3 separate regions of the Homo sapiens genome follow, and all the other regions are linked to region 3. Evidence: promoter capture Hi-C in 16 types of primary human blood cells and fetal thymus (Javierre and others, 2016). All regions are on one chromosome and are shown on one strand. The core of a region is centred on a gene start or on the middle of the fragment in contact, and the rest is flanking DNA. Distances in the headings are between cores, read along the strand shown. Region 1 holds the start of HERC5 (HECT and RLD domain containing E3 ubiquitin protein ligase 5). Region 2 has its middle 14 kb from the start of PIGY. Region 3 holds the start of PKD2 (polycystin 2, transient receptor potential cation channel).

The links. Contacts are between HindIII fragments. The CHiCAGO score rates a contact against its expected background, and 5 or more counts as called.
Region 1: a contact is called between the fragment with the promoter of HERC5 here and the fragment with the promoter of PKD2 in region 3, in 4 of 17 cell types (monocytes, fetal thymus, erythroblasts and 1 more). The highest score is 7.6, in monocytes.
Region 2: a contact is called between a fragment that was not itself captured here and the fragment with the promoter of PKD2 in region 3, in 9 of 17 cell types (naive B cells, monocytes, fetal thymus and 6 more). The highest score is 8.6, in naive B cells.

Annotation. Positions count from the first base shown.
Region 1 is chr4:88,455,765-88,458,477 of GRCh38, reverse strand. It overlaps HERC5 (HECT and RLD domain containing E3 ubiquitin protein ligase 5), which reads right to left and starts at 1,359. Exons shown (of 23, transcript NM_016323.4): 1 at 944-1,359. The coding sequence starts at 1,208. All of the region lies in intron 1 of LOC102723458 (a long non-coding RNA gene), which reads left to right. RefSeq lists an enhancer at 1,300-1,729. The HindIII fragment of the contact is 3,677 bases long and covers 1-2,713 here.
Region 2 is chr4:88,508,572-88,511,271 of GRCh38, reverse strand. It overlaps the pseudogene NCOA4P2. Among named protein-coding and RNA genes, the nearest start is that of PIGY, 14 kb to the left of the region's middle. The HindIII fragment of the contact is 2,048 bases long and covers 357-2,404 here.
Region 3 is chr4:88,006,137-88,008,929 of GRCh38, reverse strand. It overlaps PKD2 (polycystin 2, transient receptor potential cation channel), which reads right to left and starts at 1,295. Exons shown (of 15, transcript NM_000297.4): 1 at 602-1,295. The coding sequence starts at 1,196. RefSeq lists silencers at 413-552, 603-1,532. The HindIII fragment of the contact is 13,052 bases long and covers 1-2,793 here.

The sequences.
Region 1 (2,713 bases), core at 110-2,609, 450 kb before region 3:
AAGCAAATAAATCTAGCTCCCCTCCTACCTCAGTACTGAAAATTCCAAGCGTACGAAAAATTTTAACTTAAAAAAAAAAACCTTAAAATTACTACAAAAATGAGTACATTTTTTAAAACACTGGGAGTGTGGATAGCTTTCCAGCCTAACATAAAACCCATAAGCCTTAACAGACAAAAAAATTGACAGACTACCCCCCAAAAAATGCACTAAAAACAACATGCACAAAAGGCAAAGTGAGAAAAATATTACATGTACGACGTGCAAAAGGCTATTCTTATTCAATATTCAAATACCTCTTCCATACAAATAAGAAAAAGATTTAACAACTCAAATTTCTAAAAGCCAGGCAAAGATAAACAGGCAATTTACCGAAAAAGGAACGCAAACGTCCAGTAGTTAAACGCAAAATAAACTCGCAGCAAGATACCAATTTCTTCACTCCACAGATGGGCAAAATTTTAAAGAACGCGGGCAACTATTTCCCCCACTTCGATGAGAATGTGGGAGAAGTGCAACTGAAGGCCAAGGTAAAATCCCATCACTGAGAACGACTCCCAAAGTTGGAGCAGTGACTACTTTCTCAAAACGAGACAGTGGGAGATGCGGCGGGCGGGGGACGGGGGTACAAACTTGAACAGAAACCTATGAGAAAGCCAGACTGGCTAAAAGGATGAAGACGGTGCCCGCATGCCCCGCACCGGCCACTTTGCTGAGCGGAGGATCCGCTGGTCGCCAGTATCCCGCTCACCCCGCGCCTGACACTGACCGGGATAAAAGACAGCTCAGGTGCGCCGTCGGCGAAACTATCCGAGCCAGGCGCGCGTCTGCGGCCTTCTGGGCTCTCCTCCCTCAGGCGCGGACCCCCGGCTGCCCGCCCCTCACAGCCCTCAGCCCTCACCCCTCACAGCCCTCACAGCCCTCACACACCAGCCCCACTCACTCGGCGTCCGGGCGCCGCCGCTCCCGGCGAGCAGCTGGTGAACCTGGACGCCCGCCCCGCCGCGTTCCAAGACCGCGAGGCGCCCCGGCGAGCAGCAGAGTTGGCGCGTCACCTCCACCCTCCGGAGCAGCGCGCGGTGGAGGCCCGCGGCGCTGGGAAAGAGCCAGAGCTGTGCGCCCGGAGACTTCGCGGGCTGGGTCGCGGCGGCCTTGCCCGCGGTCGAGCGCCCGTTGCGCCGCGACTTCCTCCGCGACCTCCGCTCCATCGCCGCTTTGCGGGGTCCCAGGCCCAGAGGCGAGAGGAGAGAACGCCTGGTCCCGGGACTGAGCGCGCCCACTGCCTCAGGCGTTGCGCTGCAGAGCGGGAACCAGCTGCGCGCAGCTGCGTGGCGTCGGGGAACCGCAGCCTCAGCTACTGAGCCCCTGCCGGGACGCCACGCCCCCCACGTGCTGTTTGGGGGCGGGGCCTGCAGCTCCAGTGGAAAACGAAACATAATGTTTGTTGTTGTTTTTAGGGGGCGGAATCGAAAAGGAAAAGGAAACTGTAATGAGAGTGACTTGGCAGGCGGCCAAAGGCAACAGGTCGTTGGCTGGGGTAAAGGCCGATGGGCTGGACTGAGAAAGTGTCCCCGGGCGGGCAGCGGCCACCTTAACTCCTGGACGGAATGGCTTTCGAGGAAACGCTGCAGTTCCACTAGGAGGCACCCTGACACACGCATTTCCAGAGGGAGGGATAACGGAAGCCAAAGTTTGTTAAGCGTTGTGCGCCGCGGCCGGGCGCGGTGATTCACGCCTGTAATCCCAGCACTTTGGGGGGCCGAGGCGGGCGGATCACGACGTCAGGAGATCGAGACCATTCTGGCTAACACGGTGAAACCCCGTCTCTACTAAAAATACAAAAACAAAATTAGCTGGGCGTGGTGGCGGGCGCCTGTAGTCCCAGCTACTCGGGAGGCTGAGGTGGGAGAATGGCGGGAACCCGGGAGGCGGAGTTTGCAGTGAGCCGAGATTGCGCCACTGCACTCCAGCCTGGGCGACAGAGCGAGACTATGTATCAAAAAAAAAAATGCGTTGTGCGCCGGGCTGAAACCGGCATAAAACTGGGCAGAGCTATGCAGGCAGCTACCCTCCCCCCCACCCCTACCCCCACCCCCACCCCCCTCGTGCCCGCTCCGCTACGTATTCCCGTATTCCCGGGTGCCTGGCAACAGTGATGTGCTTTAGGCCTTTTTTAGAATGCATACAAACGGAACCATATCTAAGTGATGTCTGGCTTTTTTAACTTAGCACAATGCTTTGAGATTCATACTATTGTGTTTAATTAGTAATTCATTTGTGTTATTGTTGAATGGTAGTCTATCATATGGGTAAGCCACAGTTTATTTATCCATTCACCAATTGATGGGCCTGTCGGTTGTAGGGAACAGGAGAAAACTTCCCCTTTGCCCTCTGAAGGGTCACCGAAAATCAACTGACAAGGCTGGGCCTGGGCTCCTGCCTGTAACCCCAGCCCTTTTTTAGCCCAAGGCAGGAGGATCTCTTCTTTGTGAAGTGTGTATTCAAATCTTTTGACCATTTATTTATTAGCTAGCTTGACTTTTTATCTAAGAGTTCTTTATATATTATTGAGTTCTTTATATGTTTCATACCATGTTCTTTATTAGCTATACGTTTTGAAATGTTTTCTACCTGTCTGTGGCTTGCCTCTTCATTTTAAGTGTCTTTTGAAGCACTGAAGTTTTCAATTTTGATGTAATTTATCCATTTTTTT
Region 2 (2,700 bases), core at 131-2,630, 500 kb before region 3:
TCACCTATTGATGGACATTTGAGTTGTTTTCCACTTCTGGCTATTATAAATAAAGCTGCTATGAACATTTGTATGTAATCCTTGCATGGACATACGCTTTTATTTCTCTTGGGTAAATTCCTAAGAGTAGAATAGCAGGATCATATGGTAGATACTTCTTTTTAAGAAACTGCCTAACAGTTTTCCAAAGTGGTCAAACCATTTAAATTCCCACCAACTGTATATAAGAGTTCTAGTTCTTCCACATTCTTATCAACACTTGGTACGTCTATTTAATTTTAGCCATGGTAATAGGGGTGATGTGGTACCTTACTTGGGTTTTAATTTGCAGTTCTATAATGACACGTTGTTAAGCTTATTTGCCATTGATATATCTTGTGTCTGTTCAAATCTTTGCCCATTTTAAAATTGTGTCTTCATTATTGAATTTTGAGAGTTCTTTACATATTGTGGGTAGGATACAAGTCTGTCTTTGTCCATTTTGTGCCGCTATAACAGAATACCTGAGACTGTGTAATTTAAAGAACAGGAATTTATCTCACAGTCTGGTGGCTGGGAAGCCAAGATCAAGACATCAGCAGATTTATTCTCTGGTTCAAGCTGGCACCCTTGTTGCTGTGTCTTCAGAGTAGGAGAATTGTGTTCCTCATGTGGCTGATTGTTGCAAGACTCCTTACTTGGAGTCAGAGCAATAGTAGGTAATACAGTTCTATGTAAAGAATAAAGGAGGAAGCAAAAAGGTTCCAGTCAGTTGAAAAGATTCCCTTTAAAAAGACTCCTCAGGAGTTTTGTGTGGGGCTGTGTCTCTGTCCACCCAAAGTCCCCTGGATCACCCGGAGAGGGATTGGGAGCTGGAGCAGTGAGCAGAATGAATACCTCACATGACCAGAGTGGCTACTCCAGTAATAGAGAACCCCTTTTGAGATGTAGTAATGCATGGAAGGACTTGGAGCTTGCTATTGGTGGAGTTCCCTGGGCCAAACAGCAAATTAAAGATAACTTGTGAGAAGTCAAAACTCAGATTCAGAGTTGTATAAGCTGTCACCTAGAATGCCTTACGAACTGTGAGGTGGCTGTATGAACAGGTAGACCTCATCTATCAGCTTAAAGAGGAGACACTTCAGCCACAGGCCCAGCAGCTCTACTGGTTATTGGGCCAGTTCAATGGTCTTATTCATTAACGGAAGTGCACCCAAAACAAAGATCTAGCCAAGTCTCTGTGTGCCTGGAGAGACTGGGCAGTTTGACCCTTAAGTTTGAAGATTCAACTGTCCTGCTGTTTGAAGCAGACACAACTGCTCTGCATGACTATCACCACATTTGGGTTTCTCAAGACCATTCAAATTCCTAAACACTTCATGCCTCATGCTAGCTTATCAAGTATCAGGCCCTTCCTGGAGAAGAGAGGCTATATCCTAATGCCAGAGCAGAAGTCAGCATCCAGCATCACAGATGTCCCTCTCAGGGAATGGCTCCTTGGAAGCAACCATACCAGTGGTCTTCAGGAACAACCCCCCACGACTGGCTCACCCAAAAGCAGACGTTGGAGAATAGACTTCTTCCAGAGCCTGCAGTTTCTTCAGTAATGTCTCAGGCAACCTAAAGGGCTTTGAAAACTTGCTCCTCAAGAGTCAGCAACAAGAAGTTCCAGAAAAACCAAGTTATCCAAAGTGACAGCCATTTTACTACCAGTTCTTTCTCCATTTAATTGAAAAGGTGGAAGATCTAGAGCTTTCTGATCAAGGTGAGATGATCTATCTAGTGGCTGGTGATTCCCCAGGAATCCTGTAAGTTGGAGAAGCCTGAGAATGGCAGTTATGAAACCAGTGAGAAGTTTAAATTCTTGTTCCATTCCTACAATGTGAATGATTGGCTTGTCAAAACCAACTCCTATATCAACTGTTGGGTCAACCAGCCCAATAGTGTAGAGATTTTGAAAAACCTGGGCAATGTGAAGTGCCTGAATGACTACTTGGAAGCCAAGAAACTATTTTCTACCCTCAGCATCGTTTCTGAGGATTGACTTGTCCAGAACCATCAGGACCCATATAAAGTAGAGGACATATGCACAGCCAATGAGCCCTGCAGAAGTTTTGCAGAGTGTATGATGAGAATTGAGAAGGAAGCTCTGTGTAAGTGGCTTCTAAAGAAAGATAGACAAAATAATGGGATGCCTGAGGAAACCAAACCTGAGCCTGAGAAGCATCAAGATTCCCTGAATATGTGGTCCTGTCCTTCAAGAAAAGAACAAGCTAAGGCATCAAAGGCAACGGCTCCTTCTAGAATTGCTGATTCAAGTCATAAACAACAGTCCCTTGTCAGAGTGGCTAATCCAGCCCCCATATAAGGAAGGAATTCCCAAGGAAGTGCCTAGTACTGAGGACAGGGCTGGCCAACAAAAGCTTAAAAGCCCCACAATCACTTCCTGGTGTCCCTTTAATACAGCTGACTGGATCCTGCCAGGAAAGAAGATGGGCACCCTCAGCCAGTGATCCTCTGGAGAAGACAAGTGGCTACTTCGGAAGAAGGGCCAGGAAGTATTACTTAATCCACCCCTACAGGAGGAACATAACTTCCCCCAAGACCATGATGGCTACCCTACATTTTGTGATCTCTTTGCCTGTATGAAGCTTAAAATCGAGAAAGAGAAGTGATTATATCAAACTCCTCTACAGATGTGAAGGAACAGACAAGAGTTCA
Region 3 (2,793 bases), core at 46-2,545:
TTATTTTATTCTATTTGTGGTGTTCTTAACAGCTCCCACTCCTCAAAACAACCACACACATCACCAAAAAAATGCACCAATGACAATCTGCCACACTCCTCCCACAACTTGACATTATATGCACTGTACTGCTACCCTTTTCAGCCCGGGACAATGGAGTGTCCAGGCAAGAAGGAAACCACGGGTGACTATAACATTTTCCTTTAGATTTTGTGACATTGGCAAATATGCAGTTGCAACTACCATCAGTTACACAAGTAATGTTCATTTTTTCCTCTACAAGAAAAAAAAAAACAAAACCCAGATGTACTCTTTCACTCTAATTAGGCTTTCACTAATTTTCAGTAAAAAAGACTATGGTGACATATCCTGAAGAAGGAGGTATCCAATAAATATGCACCAACAAAAGAGCAGTGGAATTCCGCGCTGGGTACCGGAAATAGGGCAGCACTAGCGGAGGTGGGGAATGCGCTTCCAAGGGAGGCGGAACGCAGAGGGGATGCGAGATGGAGCCCGGGGAGCTGCCGCAGCGGGCGATGGCCCCGGCCGGCGCCGGCCGTTCTGGTTCGTGCATCTGCCGCTGCGGGTCGCGCGCTCTTACCTCGCAGCCCGCGAACCAGCCTCTCCGCCCAGGCCACTCGGGGCGGCTGCCCTTCCAGGGGGAGGTGGCGATGCAGCGGGTCCCCGCCGCCGACTGGGCTGGGGCACGGCGGGCCCTGGTCCTCTCGCCGGCGCCGCCTCCCGCTCGGGTGGCCCGCGCCGTGGTAGCCCCCAAGCCCCCGGCTCCGCGCGCCCACGGAGCTCACGGCCGAGGAGGCGGCCGACCTCCGGCTGCCCGGGCGCCACTCTACGTCCATCTCCACCACCATTCCGCCTTCTTCCCCTTCCACCTCCTCCTCCTCCTCCTCGGCCTCGAAGCCGGGGTTATCGCGGCTCCACGCCTGCCGGGAGCACGACGAGAGCGGAGGAGAAGGGGAGGCCGCGGCTCCGGCCGGGGGGTCCCGCGCGGCCGCCTGCCGGATGCGCTGCATCTCGATCTCCAGGCCCCGCTGCTCGCAGAGGCCGCCCGGGGCGGCGAGGCTGGCGCCCACGGCCGCGCAGCCAGCCATCAGCCGGCCCGGGTCCGGCGCGCGGGGCGCGGGCGGCCGCTTGGCGTCCCCGGGCTGCTGAGGCTGCACGCGACTGGAGTTCACCATCGCGGTCACTGGCGTCCGGCGCGCGGGTGCGCGGCGCCGCGCTCGGCGCTGTGCGCCTCAGGAGCCATGTTCCTTTCTTCCCGGCGCCCGCCGCCGCCTGCTCCCCGCCCCCGACCTCCCCGCGGTCCCGCGTCCTCTCGCCCGCCCCTTTGGCCCGCCTCCCTCTGGCCTCGCCCCGCCTCGCCCATCCGCCGCGGCGCGCTGAGCGGGGAGGTGCGAGGGAGCCGCCCCCGCGGTCTGCGCGCTCGCCCGGCGGCTCCCGAGTCCGCGTTCCAAGTGGAACCGGAGCCCGGGCGCGGGCGCCCACGTTCCATTCCCGGGAAGGCCTGGGAAGGGAGGGAATCGCTCACCCGCCAGCCCGCCTGCAGGGAAAGGGCTCCTGGAGCTGTCGATGCCTGCCCGACGCTGAGATAACTCTTGGGTCCCAGTTATCCACCAGCCACTTCTGCCTCGATTCACCAAAGGGCAGGGAAAGAACCTTTTGGTGAGATGGTGTGAATTAGCGACATCCAGCCTGAGCTGAAGTCTCCAGCGGGTCAAAGAAATCTTTCCATTTGCAAACTACCAAGGCTGACTTGCTGTGCATTTGGCGGGCCTCCTGCCCCTGATTCTGCTGGTTTGGAGATGCTTTCTCGCTCTTTGGTTGGCTTCTGTCTCCACACATTGTGGGGATCCCAGGGATTCGTCATAGGACTCTCGGATCGCTGGTGCCTCCACTGTGATCTCCGGTCTCCCTGCGGCCAGCACTGACTTCTAGCAACAGAATCCTGCATGAGGGCCTAGGCACAGAACTTTATTTCCACTCTTCTGAACACATCTAATGTGATGCTCTGCAATTGTCTGAAATTTATCCTACCCTAAGTCATTATCTTGTCCCCTTCTCTGGAACCTGCTTCACTTCCCGTATCCCAAGGTGAGGTTTGGGGCTTCGCTGTCCTCCTCACTTCCCAGGCCACTCTTCTTCATGGAAGCCTCGCGGTTTACCCTCCACCGCCTACACCTTATCTTCTTGTTACTTTTGCCCCACAGATATCACCCTGATATGATCTCTGTTTCTCACTCCTGCTGGCTTGATCTTATGTCTTGCATTATTCCGCATTAGAACAATTGATCCCTGTCAACTCCCATCTCTATTCTCCACGTCGGTGTCCTCACTATTTCCAGGTTATATTGCAGAACCAAAGCTGCTTATTTGTCACGTTGATGCTTAGACACCTCTGTGGGCTTCTGGCAGCTGAAAGGATAAAATTTAATTTCTGTGGTTTGGTTTAGTAAATTCTCATAATCTGCTCCTGTATTTGTTTGTTAGGGCTGCCATAACAAAGTACCAGAGACTGGGTGGCTTAACAGAAATTTATTTGCTCACCTTGTCTCTACAAAAAATACAAAAATTAGCCAGGCTTTGCGGTGTGTGCCTTTGGTCCCAGCTATTAGGGACGCTGAGGTGGGAGGATCGCTTGAGCCCGGGAGGCAGAGGATGTAGTGAGCCAAGATCGGGCCACTGCACTCCAAGTGACAGAGTGAGACTCTGTCTCATAAAGAAAGAAAGAGAGAGAGAGAAGAAAGAAAAAAAGAAGGAAGGAAGGAAAAAGAAAAG